2 separate regions of the Homo sapiens genome follow, and region 2 is linked to region 1. Evidence: promoter capture Hi-C in human tissues and cell types (Jung and others, 2019). All regions are on one chromosome and are shown on one strand. The core of a region is centred on a gene start or on the middle of the fragment in contact, and the rest is flanking DNA. Distances in the headings are between cores, read along the strand shown. Region 1 holds the start of ZCCHC14 (zinc finger CCHC-type containing 14). Region 2 has its middle 5.3 kb from the start of SLC7A5.

The links. Contacts are between HindIII fragments. The study calls those that stand out against the background at their distance.
Region 2: a fragment that was not itself captured here is called in contact with the fragment with the promoter of ZCCHC14 in region 1 in 1 of the 25 tissues and cell types used here (spleen).

Annotation. Positions count from the first base shown.
Region 1 is chr16:87,490,851-87,495,009 of GRCh38, reverse strand. It overlaps ZCCHC14 (zinc finger CCHC-type containing 14), which reads left to right and starts at 1,986. Exons shown (of 13, transcript NM_015144.3): 1 at 1,986-3,341. The coding sequence starts at 2,772. ZCCHC14-DT (ZCCHC14 divergent transcript) reads right to left here and starts at 823. Exons shown (of 4, transcript NR_110943.1): 1 at 775-823. RefSeq lists a silencer at 1,868-2,047. The HindIII fragment of the contact is 17,996 bases long and covers 1-4,159 here.
Region 2 is chr16:87,872,725-87,876,809 of GRCh38, reverse strand. No RefSeq gene overlaps it. Among named protein-coding and RNA genes, the nearest start is that of SLC7A5, 5.3 kb to the right of the region's middle. RefSeq lists an enhancer at 289-816. The HindIII fragment of the contact is 7,274 bases long and covers 1-4,085 here.

The sequences.
Region 1 (4,159 bases), core at 737-3,236:
AGATCTTTCTCCAAGGAGCTTGCTTTATCAATAAGAAATGAATCTTTTGTTTTGTTTTGTTTTTGAGACAGAGTCTTACGCTGTCACCCAGGCTGGAGTGCAGTGGCGGGATCCCCATTCACCGCAACCTCCCTTTCCCGGGCTCGGGCAATCCTTCCACTGCAGTCTCCCAAGTACCTGGGACTACAGGCACATGCCACCACATCTGGCTAATTTTTGTAGTTTTTGTAGAGATGGGATTTCGCCATGTTGCCCAGGCTGGTCTCGAACTCCTGGGCTCAAGGGATCTACCCTCGGCCTCCCAAAGTACTGGGATTACAGATGTGAGCCTCTGAGCCCAGCCAAACTGTCTTGATGTTCACGTTCTTTCACTACCTTAGATTATGAATTTTGGAATGTGGCCAGTTCCCTGGAATCACATTAAGAAGTGAGGTCCAGGACAACGACGATTAATTTAATTATTAATAGAAATCAGCCTAGACCTGGGAAATAAGATGAGGAGACCCAACTGTCCCCAGCCTTGCCCTTGTGCCCATGTGGGAGGCCATCCTGACTCCATTTAGATTTTTGCTTCTTCCTACACTGACAAAGAACACTGGGGCAGCTCCAGGGAAATGTGCCCAAGGTGTGGAGGGGGCTGGGGGAGTGGAGAGCAATTTTTTTTGTTCCCAACCATGCCTTTCTGCAATCTCTGTTCATCCTCGAAGACCTAAGACTGGAGAATGTGGGGTTTGTTTGTTTTGGAGCGACTGGGGCGGGGAGGGGGGGTCTCACCATGTTGCCCAGGTTGGTCTTAAACTCTTGGCCTCAAGCGATCCTCCTGCCTCGGTCTACCCAGTAGCTGGAACCACAGGCGTGCCAGATTCGGCTGAAGAGTTTTGTTAGGAAGTTTTCAGCACCTTGGACCATATCCTGAAAAAGTTCATTCATTGATTTAACCAATCTCTAGTGTGCACTGCCCAGAACCAGAGTGTAAGCTCCACAGGGTAGGGAGGGCGCCAGCTTTGCTCTCAGCTGCCCCCGGGCGCTTGGGACCTGGAACCCATGAATGAACAGACCCCGTTCTAGATCAACAGACATTCAAAGCAGCGCTCTAGGGGAAGGGCAGGGGAGGAATGAGCGTCCAGCCCCCGCGGCTCTACTTCTATGCCTGTGTGTAAGTGGTGGGATTTAAAGGTGGTTGGGTGCACCGGCCCTTCCCCCACCTGCAATCCGGTGCCAATGCAAGTGCCAGGGGAGGGTGGCGTTTCTGTTTACTTCCAGCCAGGTCAGCTCCCTTGCCCCCTCCCCTGTGTTTGCATTTTCTGCGTTTGGCGAGCTGGTGAAGTAGCCGCGGAAAGAAGGCGGATTTAAAGGCTCCATTTGGACGAGGCTTTTGGAGAAAGCTTGCACCTCCCATCACACCCCCAGGGCAAGTCAGCCGCCTCAAAAGTGCCGGTGCCGGCCCTCTGTGAGCTCAACACCTTCGCACAAACCTCGGGGGCGGTTATTATTACCCTCTTTTTCCCGGGGAGGCGCCTGGGGCTCAGAGAGGCCAAGTGACTCGCCCAAGGTCACACAGCTTTGCAGTGGCCGACCCGGGATTGGAACCCGGGGCTCCGGACCCCGCGGCGGCCGTTTCTCGAAGATACCCACTACCTCCCTCTTACACCGCTCAAAAATAAAGCAGGAAGGCCGAACGCCCCGTTTTCGCCGAAAAACAATGCTCCACGCAAATTTGCGGGAACAAAAGCAACCAGAAATCCAGCCCGGGTTTTCCGCCTCTCCGATTCCGCGGACCAATCGCGTCTTGACGGCCGCCGAGGGACGGGAGGCGGTGGCCCCAACATGATCGACAGCCCCCAGGGAGGCGTGGCCGCGGAACGGGCGAATGGGATTGGGGACCCGGCACAATCACGGGCCGAGAACGGGCCGCCTGAGCCAATCAGTGGGGGGGGGACGGGCCCGGCAGGCCCGGGCTGTCGCGAGAGGCGGCCACCCCGCCCACTTCTGCTGATCCCGGCCGCCCGTCAGCCGCGAGCGCGACGATCCCTCCGCTCCTCGGCCGGCGCCTCCTCCGCCGTCGCCGTCGCCGTCGCCGTCGCCGTCGCCGCCGCCGCCGCGCTCGGGCCCGGATCCGTCCGCCGCGCGGGAGCAGCAAGGCCGGCAAGTCCCGGCCGGATCCCTCCGCGCCTCCCGCCGCGCGTCCCTCCCCCTCCAGCGTCCGTTTCGCGGCCGCGGCCCCCAGCGCTCCCCAGGCGGCGACGCCGCGCCCGCGGCCCGGGGTAACGGCCGGCCTGGGCGGAGGCGCGGGCGGCGGCGACGGCATGGCCGGGGCGGCTCCGTCGGGGGGCGGCCCGCAGTGACAGACCCTGCGGCGCGGGGGGAGATGGGGGCGGCCGCCTCCCGGGCGACGACGACGACGACGACGAGGAGCAGCCGCCGCCGCCGCCGCGCACCGGCCGCCGCTGGGCACGGGCGCGGGGAAGGCGCCTCCCCGTGAGCGGGGGGCCCGAGGCCGCTCGCCGCCCCCGGCCGCCCCGGCCGCCCCGGGCCCCCCCGGCGCCCCGCGCGCGCCCGCCCGCCGGCCCCTGACGGGAGCCTTGCCCGGCCCCGGTCCCCGCCCCCGCCCCGGCGCCCGCCCGGCCCGCGGCGCCCGCGCGCCCTCGCCCGGACCCGGCCCCGGCCCGCGCGTCCCCGGTCCCGGCGCGCCCCGGCCGCGGCCCCCGGCGCCCCCCGGCCGCCCCCGCGCGGTCCCCGGCCCCGGGTCGCGGCGCGGCGCGGGCGGCAGCATGGTGGAGAAGCGCTGCCCGCTGCAGAGGGACGGCGTGTACCGCTGGTTCTCGGAGCTGCCGTCGCCGCAGCGCGTGGAGTTCCTGTGCGGCCTGCTGGACCTGTGCATCCCGCTCGAGCTTCGCTTCCTCGGCTCGTGCCTGGAGGACCTGGCCCGCAAGGACTACCACTCGCTGCGCGACTCGGAGATCAAGGCCAACAACCCGGCCGACCTGGGCAGCCTCACCAACCTGACGGACGAGGTGGTGCGCAGCAAGCTGCTGGTGTCGCTGGCGCTGCTGGGCTCGGAGCAGCGCGAGGCGGCGGGCGTGCTCTACCGCACGCTCACGCACATCGACTCCATCATCCACAACTACGGGCTGCAGCTTAACGAGGGCCGCACGGGCGATGAGTTCCTGCTGCTGTTCACCATGGCCTCCAACCACCCGGCCTTCAGCTTCCACCAGAAGCAGGTGCTGCGCCAGGAGCTCACGCAGATCCAGAGCAGCCTGAACGGCGGCGGGGGCCACGGCGGCAAGGGCGCGCCCGGGCCGGGCGGCGCGCTGCCCACTTGCCCAGCCTGCCACAAGGTGCGTGCCCGCCCCGAGCTCTGCCCTGTACCCCAAGTCTGCATCCCCAACTCTGCACTCCAAGCCTCCAGCCTGCACCGCGACCCCCCGACCCACGCCTCCAGCCTGCACTGAGAGCTCCCACCCAGGTCTCCAACCTGCACCACGAGCCCCCAGCCCGTATCCCAAGCCCCATCCTAAGCCTCTATGTCGCACCCCAAATGTGTGCCCCACCTCTCCAAGCCTCCACCGTACATCCCAAGCCTCCGCCGTACATCCCAAGCCTCCGCCGTACATCCCAAGCCCCCATCCTAAGCCCGCACTCCTCACCCTAAGTCTGCACTTTAAGCCCCAAGACCGCACCGCGGCCCTGAGCCCACACCCTCAGTCCCCTCTGCGTGCCCCAAAGCCTCCACACCTCCGCCTCGCGCCCCTTGGGCAGGAGCGGCTGCAGGGGCCCTGGGTCCGAGGATCCGCGGGAGCGGTGCGGGAGACGTCCGCGGTCAGAGCTCACAGTCCCAGGTGCCCTCCTTTCACTTAGCCGGCTGCAAACGCGATAAGGCCTTTGTCCCCTTAATGGGGCCCTTGGGTGACAGATAACACACATTGCGGCGCCTTGGTTTCCCCAAATCTGGTATTTATTACCAGAAAAGGAAGGAGCCGTGGCCACGCCAGAAGCCGCCGGTGAGGTGAACATTGCAAGGCGCTGGGGCTTCCCCGTCTGAGCCGCTCCCTCCACACAGGTGGAGGCCCTGCTTGGGGCCTGTGTCGCTGGGGGCCTGGGCGCGGGACATGGCTGTCCGTGTGAGCTCATTTATGGACACGTGCATGCTGTATGA
Region 2 (4,085 bases), core at 361-2,860, 380 kb before region 1:
AGCCTCCCTGGTGGCCGGTCATCAGCCCAGTGCCTGAAATGCATGCAAAGTCTATTTTTATTTTACCTAGTTGAACCTAAGCAAAAAATCTGGCCCTACAATCCCTAACCTTGCTCCTAGCTGTTACTGAGCAATCGCAGGGCTTCGGATTTTACTTGCAGGCATGGACACTGTTTACCGTTCCCCCATACGAACTTCAGGAAACGGGTGGGGGGACTACCCAAGTGTTCAAACAGAAGCTAGAAGGATTCGGTGAAGGAAAGTCATGAGTGTCTTTTCTTTAACAAGAATGGTGGATGTTTCCAGTGAAGAGGCAATGAGGCTTTCAAGGTGCCACCAGGGGCAGCTGAAATGAAGTTCTCTTTTTTTTGTTGTTAGATGGATTCTCAGTGTGTTGCCCAGGCTGGAGTGCAGTGGCACAATCTTGGCTCACTGCAACCTCTGCCTGCTGGGTTCAAGCAATTCTCCTGCCTCAGCCTCCCGAGTAGCTGGGATTACAGGTGCCTGCCACTGCGCCAGGCTAATTTTTGTATTTTTGGTAGAGACGGAGTTTCACCATGTTGGCCAGGCTGGTCTTGAACTCTTGACCTTGTGATCTGCCCACCTCAGCCTCCCAAAGTGCTGGGATTACAGGCGTGAGCCACCGCCCCCGGCCAAAATTCTCTTTTAACTGGGAGAATCCGCATGCTTATGAATCTGGCTGCCTATGTAAGTGGCGCCATCAGCGTGGCAGTCAGCATTGCCACGAGGATTAAAGGCCTGCCCTGGGTCTGAAGCTGGGCTTGGCCACTTACTGAACTGCCCTTTTTCTCCAACCATAAATGACAACTAACTATAGTTGCTGCAAAAATTAAATGGCATAGAGAGTGTGAAAGGAACATAAATCCTGGGACCCCACACTTGCTAACGAAAGGGAAAAGTGAAGCTGGTGACCGTGTCATGGGAACCAGCCTCCTGTTTCGGCTCCTAATTATTTAACAAACAGCTACAGAGATGAAAAGTTTGGCTGGGCTTGGTGGCTCACCCCTGTAATCCCAGCACTTTGGGAGGCCAAGGCGGGTGGATCACTTGAGGTTAGGAATTCCAGACCCGCCTGGCCAACATGATGAAACCCCGTCCCTACTAAAACTGCAAAACTTAGCCGGGCATGGTGGCAGGCGCCTGTAATCCCAGCTACTTGGGAGACTGAGGCAGAAGAATCAGTTGAACCCGGGAGGCAGAGGTTGCAGTGAGCTGAGATCGACCCACTACACTCCAGCCTGGTGACAGAGTGAGACTCCGTCTCAAAAAAAAAAAAAAAAAAAGATGAAAAGCGACACACCTCCCTCACATTTTGCCCATAAGGAAATTCCTTGTGGGCTCCAAGATCTTTACCCTAAGCGCTTCTGTTAAAGTTCACCCTGGCAATGTGAACCGTTAGCTTATCTTCACAGGTGCTGGGACGAGGGGCAGAACTGAGTCATCCCTCCGCCCACCTGAAGCAAATGCATATCTCATTGTTTCCGCTGCCCTATCGTCTAGGGTATCTTACGTGAAACGGCAGAGTCACTAAACCAGACAAAAACTTGAATTTTCCCCTACCCCCTTCACATGAAAATTGTGTACTGCCCAATATCCTGCCCTTCCCCCTTTCAATATTGAAGCCCTCAAAATCATCTTCGGAGAAAGGCATAGACCAGTCTCTCAGGTGCGCGTCCCTAATGTTGGCATTTAAAGCTAAAATGACGGAGACTTGCCTCGGTCGTCTTCCTTGACTGGCAAGAGTCTTTAAGGCCGAACACTGACTGAGTGGCTGCCCTACACACCTATCTGCCTGGAAACAGAACGGAATTTCTGATCGTACTCAGGGCAGCCCCACCTTGTCAAGCATGCAGATAGGAAAAGCTCACCTCTGAGCATAATAAAAGCATGGCTTTCAAAAACAACCTCCAGAAGAAGCAAGGACCCTTGCTATGTTAAAAGATGCAGGCATTTCTCCCCTGTGACTGAGAACCAGCCCGGCAGGGGACTCACAGGAGAGAGGCGGCCCCAGGAAGCCCCACTTCAATTAAGGGTTGTGAAGCCAGCAAATCTGAGACAGGCCTCCTTTAATTTAGAAAGCGTATTTTGCTAAGGTTGAGGGCGCACCCGTGACACAGCCTCGGGAGGTCCGGACCGCATGTGCCCAAGGTGGTTGGGGTGCAGCTTGGTCTTATACATTTTAAGGAGACATGAGACATCAATCAAGTACATTTAAAAAATACATTGGTTTGGTTCAGAAAGGCGGGACAACTCAAAGCAGGAGGGGGGCTTCCAGGCTAGAGGTAAATGTAAACATTTTCTTTTTTTTTTTTTTTGAGACAAGAGTTTCGCTCTTCCACCCAGGCTGGAGTGCAGTGGCACAATCTTGGTTCACTGCAACCTCTGCCTTCTGGTTTCAAGCGATTCTCTTGCCTCAGCCTCCCATTACAGGCGGTGCACCAACACGCCCAGCTGATGTTTATATATATATATGTGTGTGTATATATATGTGTGTGTGTGTATATATATGTGTATATATGTGTATATATACGTATATATGTATATATGTGTATATACATATATGTATATATATGTGTGTATATATGTGTATATATATGTGTGTATATATGTGTATATATGTGTGTATATATATGTGTGTATATATATATATATATATATATATATTTTTTTTTTGAGACGGAGTCTCGCTTTGTCACCCAGGCTGGAGTGCAGTGGTGCGATCTCCCGTCACTGCAACCTCCGCCTCCCACGTTCATGCCATTCTCCTGCCTCAGCCTCCCGAGTAGCTGGGACTACAGGCGCCCACCACCACGCCCAGCTAATTTTTTTGTATTTTTGGTAGAGACGGGGTTTCACCATGTTGGCCAGGCTGGTCTTAAACTCCTGACCTCAAGTGATCTGCCTGCTTCGGCCTCCCAAAGTGCTGGGATTACAGGCATGAGCCACCGCACTCGGCCAATGTTTATATTTTTAGTAGAGATGGGGTTTCACCATGTTGGCCAGGCTGGTCTTTAACTCATGACCTCGAGATCCCCCCGCCTCGGCCTCCCAAAGTTCCCAAATCGCTGGGATTACAAGTGTGAGCCACCGCGCCCAACCAATTTAAACATTTTCTGGTTGACAATTGTTTGAGTTTGTTGTCTAAAGACCTGGGATTGTTGCCGAGCATGGTGGCTCACGCCTGTAATCCCAGCACTTTGGGAGGCCGAGGTGGGCAGATCACCAGGAGTTCGAGACCAGCGTGGTCAACCTGGTGGAACCCAGCCTCTACTAAAAATACAAAAATTAGCCAGGTGTGGTGGCAGGTGCCTGTAATCCCAGCTACTCGGGAGGCTGAGGCAGGAGAATCACTTGATCCCGGGAGGCAGAGGTTGCAGTGAGCCAAGATCGTGCCATTGCACTCCAGCCAGGGCGACAGTGAGACTCTGTCTCAAAAAAAAAAAGAAAAACACAAAAGACCTGGGATCAGTAGAAAGCAATGTTTGGAGGCCGGGCACAGTGGCTCACACCTGTAATCCCAGCACTCTGGGAGGCCAAGGCGGGCGGATCACGAGGTCAGGAGATGGAGACCATCCTGACTAACACGGTGAAACCCCGTTTGTACTAAAAATACAAAAAAATTAGCCGGGCGTGGTGGCAGGCGCCTGTAGTCCCAGCTACTCTGGAGGCTGAGGCAGGAGAATCACTTGAACCCAGGAGGCGGAGCTTGCAGTGAGCCGAGATCGCGCCACCACACTCTAGCCTGGGCGATAAGTGAGACAAGAAAGAAAGAAAGAGAGAAAGAGAGAAAGAGAGAGAGAGAGAGAGAGAGAGAGAAAGAAAGGAAGGAAGGAAGGAAGGAAGGAAGGAAGGAAGGAAGGAAGGAAGGAAGAAAGAAAGAAAGAAAGAAAGAAAGAAAGAAAGAAAGAAAGAAAGAAAGAAAGGAAGGAAGGAATGTTTGGGTTGTGGTGAGGCTGTGGAGATGAAAGCTGTATCATGCAGATGAAGCTTTTAGCTAGGAGGCTTCAAAGAGAACAGGCTGTAAAATGTTAATCTTTAAGTCTGATAGACTTCAAGTATGTGTT